3 separate regions of the Homo sapiens genome follow, and all the other regions are linked to region 2. Evidence: promoter capture Hi-C in 16 types of primary human blood cells and fetal thymus (Javierre and others, 2016). All regions are on one chromosome and are shown on one strand. Each heading gives the region's core, a stretch centred on a gene start or on the middle of the fragment in contact. The rest is flanking DNA. Distances are from core to core; before and after follow the strand shown.

Evidence for each region. The method cuts DNA at HindIII sites, captures the fragments that hold promoters and counts their contacts. A CHiCAGO score of 5 or more calls a contact.
Region 1: a contact is called between a fragment that was not itself captured here and the fragment with the promoter of IL6ST in region 2, in 1 of 17 cell types (total B cells). The highest score is 6.5, in total B cells.
Region 3: a fragment that was not itself captured here is called in contact with the fragment with the promoter of IL6ST in region 2 in 1 of 17 cell types (naive B cells); the score reaches 5.9 in naive B cells.

The regions. Positions count from the first base shown.
Region 1 is chr5:57,240,833-57,244,551 of GRCh38, forward strand. All of the region lies in intron 6 of GPBP1 (GC-rich promoter binding protein 1), which reads left to right. Among named protein-coding and RNA genes, the nearest start is that of GPBP1, 69 kb to the left of the region's middle. The HindIII fragment of the contact is 5,442 bases long and covers 1-3,719 here.
Region 2 is chr5:55,993,248-55,996,519 of GRCh38, forward strand. It overlaps IL6ST (interleukin 6 cytokine family signal transducer), which reads right to left and starts at 1,716. Exons shown (of 17, transcript NM_002184.4): 1 at 1,537-1,716. It overlaps IL6ST-DT (IL6ST divergent transcript), which reads left to right and starts at 1,920. Exons shown (of 2, transcript NR_102755.1): 1 at 1,920-2,307. RefSeq lists cis regulatory regions at 484-2,802, 1,496-2,169, a silencer at 1,447-1,926 and an enhancer at 1,758-2,269. The HindIII fragment of the contact is 8,053 bases long and covers 1-3,272 here.
Region 3 is chr5:57,208,060-57,211,521 of GRCh38, forward strand. The region is part of intron 2 of GPBP1 (GC-rich promoter binding protein 1); the gene reads left to right. Among named protein-coding and RNA genes, the nearest start is that of GPBP1, 36 kb to the left of the region's middle. The HindIII fragment of the contact is 407 bases long and covers 1,523-1,929 here.

The DNA of each region.
Region 1 (3,719 bases), core at 614-3,113, 1.2 Mb after region 2:
GTGTGGTGGCACATGCCTGTAATTCCAGCTACTCGGGAGGCTGAGGCAGGCGGAGGTTGTGGTGAGCTGAAATCGCGCCATTGCACTCCAGCCTGGGCAACAAGAGCGAAACTCTGTCTCCCATTTAAAAAAAAAAAAAAGGCATTGTTAAGGTTAAATTGTCTACTATGTAAAAATATTTGGTCATGTCACAGGTGTTTAATAAATGTCAGCTAATTATGTTGTTCAAATCCAATAAATGAAGGAGATTCTAGTTGTAGCTTTGTTAGAAGGCAAAAATGAATTTCTAGGTAGTGGGCCAAAGAATGAAGTAGTTAAATGTAGTGATTGAGTCAGAAACTTCATGTATGTAGAAGGTAGCTATATGGAGAGTGTAGTGAAAGGAAAGAGGTGAGGAATTGAAATGTCAACTCTGAATTATCTGTGTGGCCAATTTACTTTGTATTATATGTGGCAGTATTTTTGTTCTAATTTGTCTTCCTGAGAATTGGGCCAGTTCCCCGTCATCACTGCATTTATAGAAGAAAACTAATTCTTACATTCATAGGTATGGGAAGAGCATGAATAACAAGACAATAAAAGTGATATTTAATATTTAAAGTCAATTATAGGGCCAGGATTGGTGGTCCAGGCCTGTAATCCTAGCACTTTGGGAGGCCGAGGTGGGAAGATCAGTTGAAGCCAAGAGTTTGAGACCAGCCTGGGCAGCATAGTGAACCTTGTCTCTACAAAAATAAAAATAAAAAGGTCAGTTATTGTCAGGCTACATTTATTTGCGAGGATAGAGGGAAATAATGTTAAGAAAATCCAAAGGTCACATTTGCCTTCAGTTGTTCTGAAATTTGAACATGAGAATACCTGTGTAGGTGAGGTTGATGTAATAAGCACATGAAACTTATAGAAGATAGTCACTTACTTTCTCATTTTATATAGGTATTAAGGTCTGTCATCAATATATAAGTTTTCTCTTTTAAAATGTAAACATTTGGGGTCTTCTTCATATAATTAACCAAGTCAGAAAGTAAACATTGGATAATGTTTGACTCTAAGAGCTTAAATACTTGGCAAGGTTTTCCTAGGAGAATTTGTGGAGAAAATCTGTGAATAGATGAGCCAATTTTTAAATAATATAAAATGGGGATACATGATGCAAATTAATTCTTGCCTTTTAGTCCCACATCCCTTCTTCCATTACTTACAGGTTATTGTTACCATTAAGAACACTTCTTTTTCTTAAATGAGCAGGTTTATGTCGATTATTCAGAGTTGTTACACAGGACATAGATTGGTTTTATCATGTCTATCTTAAAGTTTTTCTTTTTCTTACTCTTACCAGTCAACCTAAAATTCTTTTTTCCCTCTGATATCTAATTGCAGGTTAAGCAACCTGAAATTCTTGCAAAAGGACACCTTTAATTTGAATTGTAATTGGAATCCTATGCTAGTGACAGTGTATGGCTTTTCTGTATTGTTTTCTAATAATTATTTGAATATGAAACATTCCACAGTAAATCCCAGACAAGAGCTATTGTTTTTCATTTTATAGGTGAGAGATTAAGTAACTTATATAAGATTATACAACTGGTAAGGTTGGAGCTAGTATTCAAATTCTGATAAATCTGGTACAAAAGTACACATTCTTCTGTAATATTTAAATGTGAATTCTTTTTGCAGTTTTTGAGTCAGAGTCTTGCCCTCTCCCCCAGGCATGAGTGCAGTGGTGCGATCATGGCTCATTGCAGCCCCAGCCTCCTAGGCTCAAGCGATCTTCCTGCCTCATTTTTAAATTTTTCATGGAGATGATGTCTCATTATGTTGCCCAGCCTGGTCTTGAACTCCTGGGCTCAAGTGATCCATCCCACCTTGGCCTCCGAAAGTGCTGGAATTACAGGTTTGAGCCACCATGCCTGGCCTAAATATGAATTATTATTATTTTAAATGGAGTCTCACACTGTCGCCCTGGCTGGAGTGCAGTGGTGTGATCTCATCTCACTGCAACCTCTGCCTCCCGGGTTCAAGTGATTCTTCTGCCTCGGCCTCCCGAGTAGCCGGGATTAGAGAGGCCTGCCACCACACCTGGCTAACTTTTTGTATTTTTAGTAAAGACAGGGTTTCACCATGTTGGCCAGGCTGGTCTCAAACTCCTAACCTTGTGATCCGTCCGCCTCAGCCTCCCAAAGTGTTGGGATTACAGGCGTGAGCCACTGCGCCCGGCCTAATATGAATTACTTTTTTTGTTTTTTTCTTTTTTTTGAGATGGAGTGTCACTCTGTCGCCCAGGCTGGAGTGCGGTGGTGTGATCTTGGCTCACTGCAACCTCCACCTCCCGGGTTCAAGCAGTTCTCTGCCTCAGTCTCCCGAGTAGCTGGGATTACAGGCGCCTGCCACCATACCTGGCTAATTTTTGTATTTTTAGTAGAGATGGGGTTTCACCATATTGGCCAGGCTGGTCTTGAACTCCTGACCTCGTGATCCACCTGCCTCGGCTTCCCAAAGTGCTGGGATTATAGGCATGAGGCACCGTGCCTGGCCTAATACGAATTCTTAATAAGCACAATAACGGTATATCCCTCCCCTTTCCTCTCAGTCCCTATCCTCTTTCTTCAGGGACTTTTGTCATCTCTTACTCTGCTACCTACTCTTCTGTGAATGATTTCTTAGGTTTCACTTTCCTTCTTTATAGAATATTTCATCATTCTTTGTACTGAAGACCTCATTGAGGAACTAGCCAGAATATTTCTTACTCCTAGGCATCTAGGAATCCAGCTTTAGGAAAGGTGAAATTTGTACTCAGAAACTATATTGAGGCTTAAAGATAGTATATCTACTTGCCTATCTAGTTTTCATGTCTTCTGCTTCCTTGTTTTTGTTTTGAGACAGGGTCCCACTCTGTGGCCCAGACTGGAGTACAGTTGTGCCATCACAGCTCACTACAGCCTCAACCTGGGCTCAAGGGATTCTCCTATGTCAGCCCCCCAAGTAGCTAAGACTACAGGTGCACATCACTGTGTCTGGCTAATTGAAAAAATTTTTTTTTGTAGAGACAAAGTTTCACTATATTGCCCAGGCTGGTCTTGGACTCCTGGACTCAAGCGGTCCTCCCACCCTGGTCTCCCAAAGTGCTGGGATTACAGGCATGAGCCACCACACCCAGCCTACTTCCTGGATCTGATACCTTCATATTTATAAAAATTTTTATTTCTTCTTATATCTTCAGCTTTCCACATTGGATCATTTTCCTTCTGCCTAAAGTACATTCTTTAGAATTAGTAAGGATCTTTTGAATTATTCTATTTTTATCAAAGTTGCATTTCTGCCTTCTACCATATCTGGCATTTTCAAGTCCTGATCCCTTTGAGGCTCTATGTGGTAGATTAGGTCCTCCTCAGCTGTTAGGTTCCTTTGTGTACACTCTAAATTGAAACTTTTTATTTACTTCTCTAGAACTGTGTGTTGAAATCATTTTCTTGCTGATGACTCTACTCCTATTTTATATAGTTGTGTTTGGTTTCCTCCCTTACAGTAATTTTAATATAAGAATCTAGAAGAAGATAAACTTGTGTGCTTAGCCACATTGAACTAGAAGTCTCTGTTAGCCATGTTTAAACTTACTTAGTTGTAGTATAGTGATAGAACTGCCCCCTGCTTTAACACCTGGATTCCTCTCAGATGAGATTACCTTTCACATTTTGTAGCACTGATCATTCCTCAGATTCCTG
Region 2 (3,272 bases), core at 466-2,965:
GTTTTTATGAGAAACGTGTCAACATGACAAAATGATTCAGAGCACAGGATTTGGAGTCACACAGATCTAGTTTTCAGCGAGACTCCTGTTTCCTTCTCTATAAAGGGGACATTTTAACACCTACTTCACATGTATTTAACTTTCGCCCTAACACTGAACTGAAGTGCAAAGCCTTGGAAACAAATTTAAATAAATTGAAAATACTGCAATTCACAAATAAGAGTGAGAACAACATTTTTAGTTACGTAAGACTATATTATATTAAATTAGGTGGCAGCAGTATTTATAATAATCTAAATTGCCTGTGAGAAAATTAAACTGGTATTGTCAATACATACTTAAAATAAGAAAAAAATCCCACTACAGTCTGTCCTTTTTGACACTTTCTCCTTCCTGTAATTTTTTTCTTTCACTCAAGATTAAAAACAAACGTTCAAGATTATCCCTAAAGAGAAATAGTTGGAAAGCACAATTTAATAGCAAGTTGGTTCTATAAATGTAATATTTCAGTTCATAGTTCAAAAATACTTCCAAATAGGAATTAACATGAATTTAAGAAATTAACATAATGGCACACAGCTAAACTGATGATCTGAGTCCGTAATTTCAAATTAAGAGTTGTTCCAACTTGAAGCTGGCAGTCATACACAGTTTAAAGGGTTTGTTTACAGCACTGTCAAAAGCAAATACCACAATCTTTCAGAAAATTCACCCTGGCATTCTAATAACTAGTTATTTTAAGGCAGTATAATTGTTGAAATACTTCACAAACTAAGCCAAAATGCGTTTCCTTCTGAAGGCAAAAAAAAAAAAAAAAAAAAAAGGTGACGTCTTATTTTTAACCTGTGATTTTTTTTTTTTTTCAGTTTCGGATTATGAAATAAAATGCTGTTCATCCACTGAAGAACAGACCCTTGCTTCCTGCACTATCTTCAAAAGTTTAGGTCGGAGGAGGTAAAATTTTAAAAACTGATTTGTTCTCCTTGGGATACAGTGAGATGTGGAATTCGTTAGGAATGATAATTATTAATAGAAAAGATCAAAAGAAGGAAAGAAACGTTAATAGTGTTTATAAGCATTGTGAACTTTCAACAAAGCTGAAACGTTACGATTTCAAGATGAAAAAACGGCTTTGGGGAAGGGAAATCCACCTCGAGAATGAAGACAAGTGCGGAGCGAATAGAATTTCAGGGGAGATGAAAAGGGGATTGGGAAAAACGTGGGATCTGGTAACAAAAAGGGGGGTTTGTTCTTGAAGGGCGTTCTGCGGGGCGGGCGTTAAGAGGGGTGCGTGCGTGCGCCTGGGTGAAGTTTGTACTCAGGGCTGCGATAATCGAGGTGACAAAGTTGTGGAAGTAGAATTCGGAGGTCCGGGAGCAGGAAGGGGAAGGAATGTGGGGATTTCCAGGCTGGGCTGACAAGTTCCGGGCGCTGCTCTCAGGGGGAAGGGAGGTCTCCTCGAGTGCCAGATAGCCCGTCCGAAACCACCGACACTCTAACTCCAGCTACGCGACCCAGCACCCGGCCCCTCCTCACCTCAGGCCGCGCCGCCTCGACCCTCCGCGTCTCCACAGCGCACGAACCCCTTGGCGCCAGGCTGGGCCAGACCCGTCGGCCTGGCAGGCGCGGCCCCCGGTTCAGCTGCGCCGGGGCGGCCCAGCGCGACTCCGCGGGCCTTTTGGCTGCTCGCCCCGGCTCCGGAACACTGTCAGATCCTTCTCCGCAGAGGTAGCGCGCCACCCCAGTCCCGCGGCGGGGCGGGGCGCTCCCCAATCCCGCCCAGCTGCGCCCCCGGCCGGCCAACGCTGCGCCCCGCCCCCTACCGGGACCTAGGCGCTGATTGGCCCCTGAGAGACCCTTTGCGCCCAGGCATTGGTCCAGTGGCCGCCTGTCGACGAGGGGGCGGGACTCCGAGGGGTAGCGATTCCCGTAACGCGGCTCTTCGCGTCCCGGATTCCGGTGGCTGCGTCCGCGTCGCCTCTCCCAGACTAGATCGAAGGGTTCCCCCCACCTCCCCTCTGTGGGCGGAAAGAGCGGAATGTTCCATTTTTCTGTGGAATAACGGGGTCATGAACTGGAGCCCGGGTGCTGCCCGCCGCCCGCTGCCCCCGCCCTCCCTTCTCGCCAGGGCGCCTGCGGCCTCTCTTCGCGGCCTTCCCCGAGGGACTCAGAGCCGCGAGGGACCGCCTAGCTCCCTTGGGGATGGGGAAGGCGTGGGAGCCTCTTGGGGAAAGTGAAGAGCTCGGTGGCCGTGACTCCGCACGAGACTGCGGCAGATTGTGGCGGCGGCTTCTCTCCAAGACTTACGTAAACGAGCCTTGCCACAGTACTTTTTTAAATTAGTAAATGAGTTTGGGTGCGATTGATCAGTGAGCCCCAGAGGTGGTGGCCCACCAAGCGACTAGTGTTTCTTTGCGGTTTGTACCTCCCCGTTTATGATAAAAAATACCGGGTAAAAACCTATTCATCCCGCCTCCGCCCCCCCCTTTCCCTCAGAAAATGGACCTCAAGGCTCATGATGTTTGTTTCTCCCCAAAGGAAGATGAGAATCTTGAGTTAAAAGATAAGGCATGTGCGTGCGTGCGTGTGGGGTGTGTGCGTGGGTGTCTGTAAAAGTAAACACCCAAAGGTAGAGGTTTTTGTGGAAGAATGAGAGGATATAGGAAGGAAATAATGGTTTAATGAACTTAAATTATATCCATAAATTAACAATTATAAAGTTCTTCATTATATTGAGGATTCAGATAGAGTAAAACATAGATCGAATTTTAATCTCTTAGTTGTTGATCAGATAATTTATAAAAGGGCAAAGTGGGCCTGCTAACGGAGTCGCAGGCAAAGTAGATGGTGCTGCAGCTGATGTGTTCAGCTCTTGCTCCTCCCTGTCATCCTATATCTAACCTATAGATTGTGACCAGATTCTGTTCTAGCTTTGCCATTTAGAGGGGTGTTTATTTTAAAACAAATTTTTATAAAAATTTGTTAAATTGAAAATTTTGTATAGATCCAGGAAACTTGATTTTTTTGTTGTTGTTCACAGTCTCACTCTGTCACCCAGGCTGGAGTGCAGTGGCTGGATCATGCTCACCGCACGTTCAAATTCCTGGGCTCTAGCGATCCTCCCACCTCAACCTCCCAAGTATCTCAGACTACAGGTGCCCCTACAATACCTGGCCAATTTTTAAAATTTTTGGAGAGACAAGATTTTGGTATGCTGACCCGGCTGGTCTTGAACTGCTGGCAACAAACGATCCTCCGGCCTTAGTGGCCTC
Region 3 (3,462 bases), core at 476-2,975, 1.2 Mb after region 2:
AATGCCTGTCCTCACCTAGATCCGTGGGCACAGAACCGGGGATGGAGCCCTCGCGAGGGACCATGCCCTTCCCTTCCCAGCGCTTGCCTGCACACTTCTGTATCAGTAGGGTCTTACTCTTTCTCAGGGGATTGGAGCCCTAGCCAGGGACCATGCCCTTTTCTTCCCAGCACTTCCTTGCCTCCCTCCATATCAATAGAGTCTCATTTTGTTGCTCAGGCTGGAGTGCAGTGGTGTGATCTTGGCTCACTGCAACCTCCACTTCCCGGGCTCAAGCAATCCTTCCGCCTCAGTGTCCCAAGTAGCTGGGACCACAGGTACGAGCCACCATGCCTGGCTGATTTTTTTATTTTTAGTAGGGACGGGGTTCACCATGTTGCCCAGGCTGGTCCTGAGCCACTGAGCTCAAGTGATCTGCTCACCTTGTCCTCCCACAGTGCTGGGATTATAGGCGTGAACCACTGTAGCCTGGCCGGGTGTTGGAATTTTAATAGAGATTACGTTGAATCTGTAGATCATGTTTGGGTAGTGTTGTTGTCTTAACAGTGTTGAGTTTCCCAGTCCTCAAACACAGGGATATCTGTCTTTTGTTTTTCTTTTTTTTTTTTTTTTTTTGAGACAGAGTCTCACCCCGTCGTCCAGGCTGGAGTGCAATGGCGTGATCTCGGCTCACTGCAACCTCTGCCTCCTGGGTTCAAGCGATTCTCCTACCTCAGCCTTCCAAGTAGCTGGGATTACAGGTGCCTGCCTCCATGCCCAGCTAATACTTTATTTTAGCAGAGATGGGGTTTCACCATGTTGGCCAGCCTGGTCTCAAACTCTTGACCTCATGTGATCCACCTGCCTGGGCCTCCCAAAGTGCTGGGATTACAGGCTTGAGCCACTGTGCTGGGCCAGGGATGTCTTTCTGTTTAGGTCTTTTAACATTTCTTTCAGCACTGTCTTAATAGTTTTTGGTGTGCAAGTCTTAACATTTTCTTGGTTATATTTATTTATTATAGGTATTTTATGCTTTTGGATTTTACTGCGAATTGAGTTGTTTTCCTAATTTCTTTTTTGGATTGTTAATAGTGTATACACAAACAGCTGTTTTTGTGTGTTGATCTTCTATCTTGGCAGCGTTCCTGAATTTAATTAGCTCTAATACATATTTTTTCTGGACTCTTTAGAATTTATGTAAGATCATGTAATCTGTGAATAGGAATAATTTTACTTTTTCCTTCCCAATTTGGATGCCATTTAAAAAAATACGACACTGTCTCACTATGTTCCCCAGGCTGGAGTGTAGTGCTTTTCACAGGTGCCATTATAGCACTCTACAGCCTCAAACTGTGGGGCTCTAGCACTTCTCCCTTCCCAGGCTCCCAAGTATCTGGGACTACAGGTGCTTTGCACTGTGGTGGCTCAGGATGCCTTTCATTTCTTTTCTTGCCTAGTTGCTATGGTTAGAACGTCTACTACAGTGTTGAATAGAGCTTGTGAAAGCAGGGCATTCTTGTCTTGTTCCTGATCTTAAGGGGAAAGCTTTCAGTCTTTCACCATTGAGGATGATGTGCTGTGGTTTTTTTTAATAGATGCTGTTTATCAGGTTGAGCAAGTTTCCTTCTTGTTTCTAGTTTGTTGAGTATTTTTATAATTAAAGGGTGCTAGATTTTGTCAAATGCTTTTTCTGCATCAATTAAGATGATCGTTTGGTATTTTTCTTTCATGTTATTAATGTGGTGTATTATTGATTGATTTTTGTATGTTGAGTCACTCTTGCATTCCTGGGAAAATACTACTTTGTATGGTGTTTAATCCTTTTAATATGCTGCTAGATTTGGTTTACTGGTATTTCATTGAGGATTTTTACTCAGTACTTTGGTTGTAGTTAGAATTCCTTAGCTATTGGTTGATTTTGGGTGTTTTTGATGGTCTTTGTGATTTTAAAGCTTATTTTAAAGTTTTCTGAAATCATTATAAAGACAGTAAGTTTGTTATTCTGATGAAATCAATTTGAGTAAGTTTTTCTTTGAAAACGTGGCACAAATTTGGTAGGGTCAGAAATAAAACATAACAAGAAAGAGAAAAAAGTCTCATCTATTTGTATTTTTTGCCAAAGTGTATTCTTTTTCAGTCTGAAGAATAATCTTTTTTTAAAAATTAAAAGTCAGGCATGTGCACTTAAAGATGTACACTTAGGTTTTATTTTTTTCAGAACCAGCTTTCTCCCGGGGAAATTTTTATTCTTCATGGATGTCGTGAATAAATTGTAAATTGGGTGACAGAGAAAAAAATTAGGGTTTTCATACTAGCAGTATTTGTGTATCTTAAACTCTTTATGTCCACATGGGACCTTCAGATATGACAGAATCCAGTAGATTTCTTAAAAAAAATTTTTTTAAGCCAGTCAAATTTAGTATTGGGGGGCCAGTAGAAGATTTCTAATAAGCTGTGGAATCCTGACTCCTGAGTTGTTAGTAGGACTGTTGATTTGCCTTTTTTGAGGGGGAGGGTAGTTGTCTCCTGTATGTACCTGGTTGTTGTGTATGTGTAAAGGAAATATTTAATACATAAACATTTTAGTTGGTCTATTTCTAAAGTTGTTTGTAGTTTACTAGGGCTGCCATAACCAAATACCACAGACTGGGTGGCTTAAACAACAGACATTTATTTTCTCAGTTTTGGAGGTTCTAAGTTCAGGGTAGAGGCATCAGCAGAGGGTTGGTTGCCTCTGAGACCTCTCTCTTTGGCTTGTAAATGACTGCCTGCTTGCTGCCTCTTCACATGGTCCTTTTATCTGTGCATGTGTCCAAATTTCTTATAAGGGCACAGTCTGATGGGAATAGAACCCACTCTAATTGCCTCATTTGCAGTTAATCACTTCTTTAAAGACCTTATCTTCAAATATTGCTACATTTGAGGTATTGGGGGCTATGACTTCAACATACAAATCTTGTTGGTTGGGGGGACACAGTTCAACCCATAACATACACAGGGAAAGGAAGAAGAGACAAAATCAGATGGCACAATGCAGTTAAGATGAGTGGTGTGGAACTTGTGAAACTTTAATTAGCCTTTATATACTTGTGTAACTGCCATAGCCATAACAATACTGCCTTTTTTTTTTTTTAAATCTTTTTTCAGAACATGAGTTAACTTCTTTTTTTGAGATAGGATCTTCTCTGTCACCTGGGCTGGAGTACAGTGGCGTCATAGCTCACTGCAGCCTCAAACTTCTGGTCTCAAGCAGTCTTCTTCCCTCAGTCTCCGTAGTAGCTGGGACTACAGGCATGGACCACCACACTCAGCCGGTTTTTAAAATTTTTTGTAGAGACGGGAGTCTTACCATGTTGCCAAGGCCGGCCTCAATCTCCTGGGCTCAAGGGAGCCTCCCACTTCACTTCCCAGAGTGCTGGGATTACAGGTGTGAGCCTCCACACCAGGCCCATACTTTAAGAACTAGATTTAAATTAAAGTTAA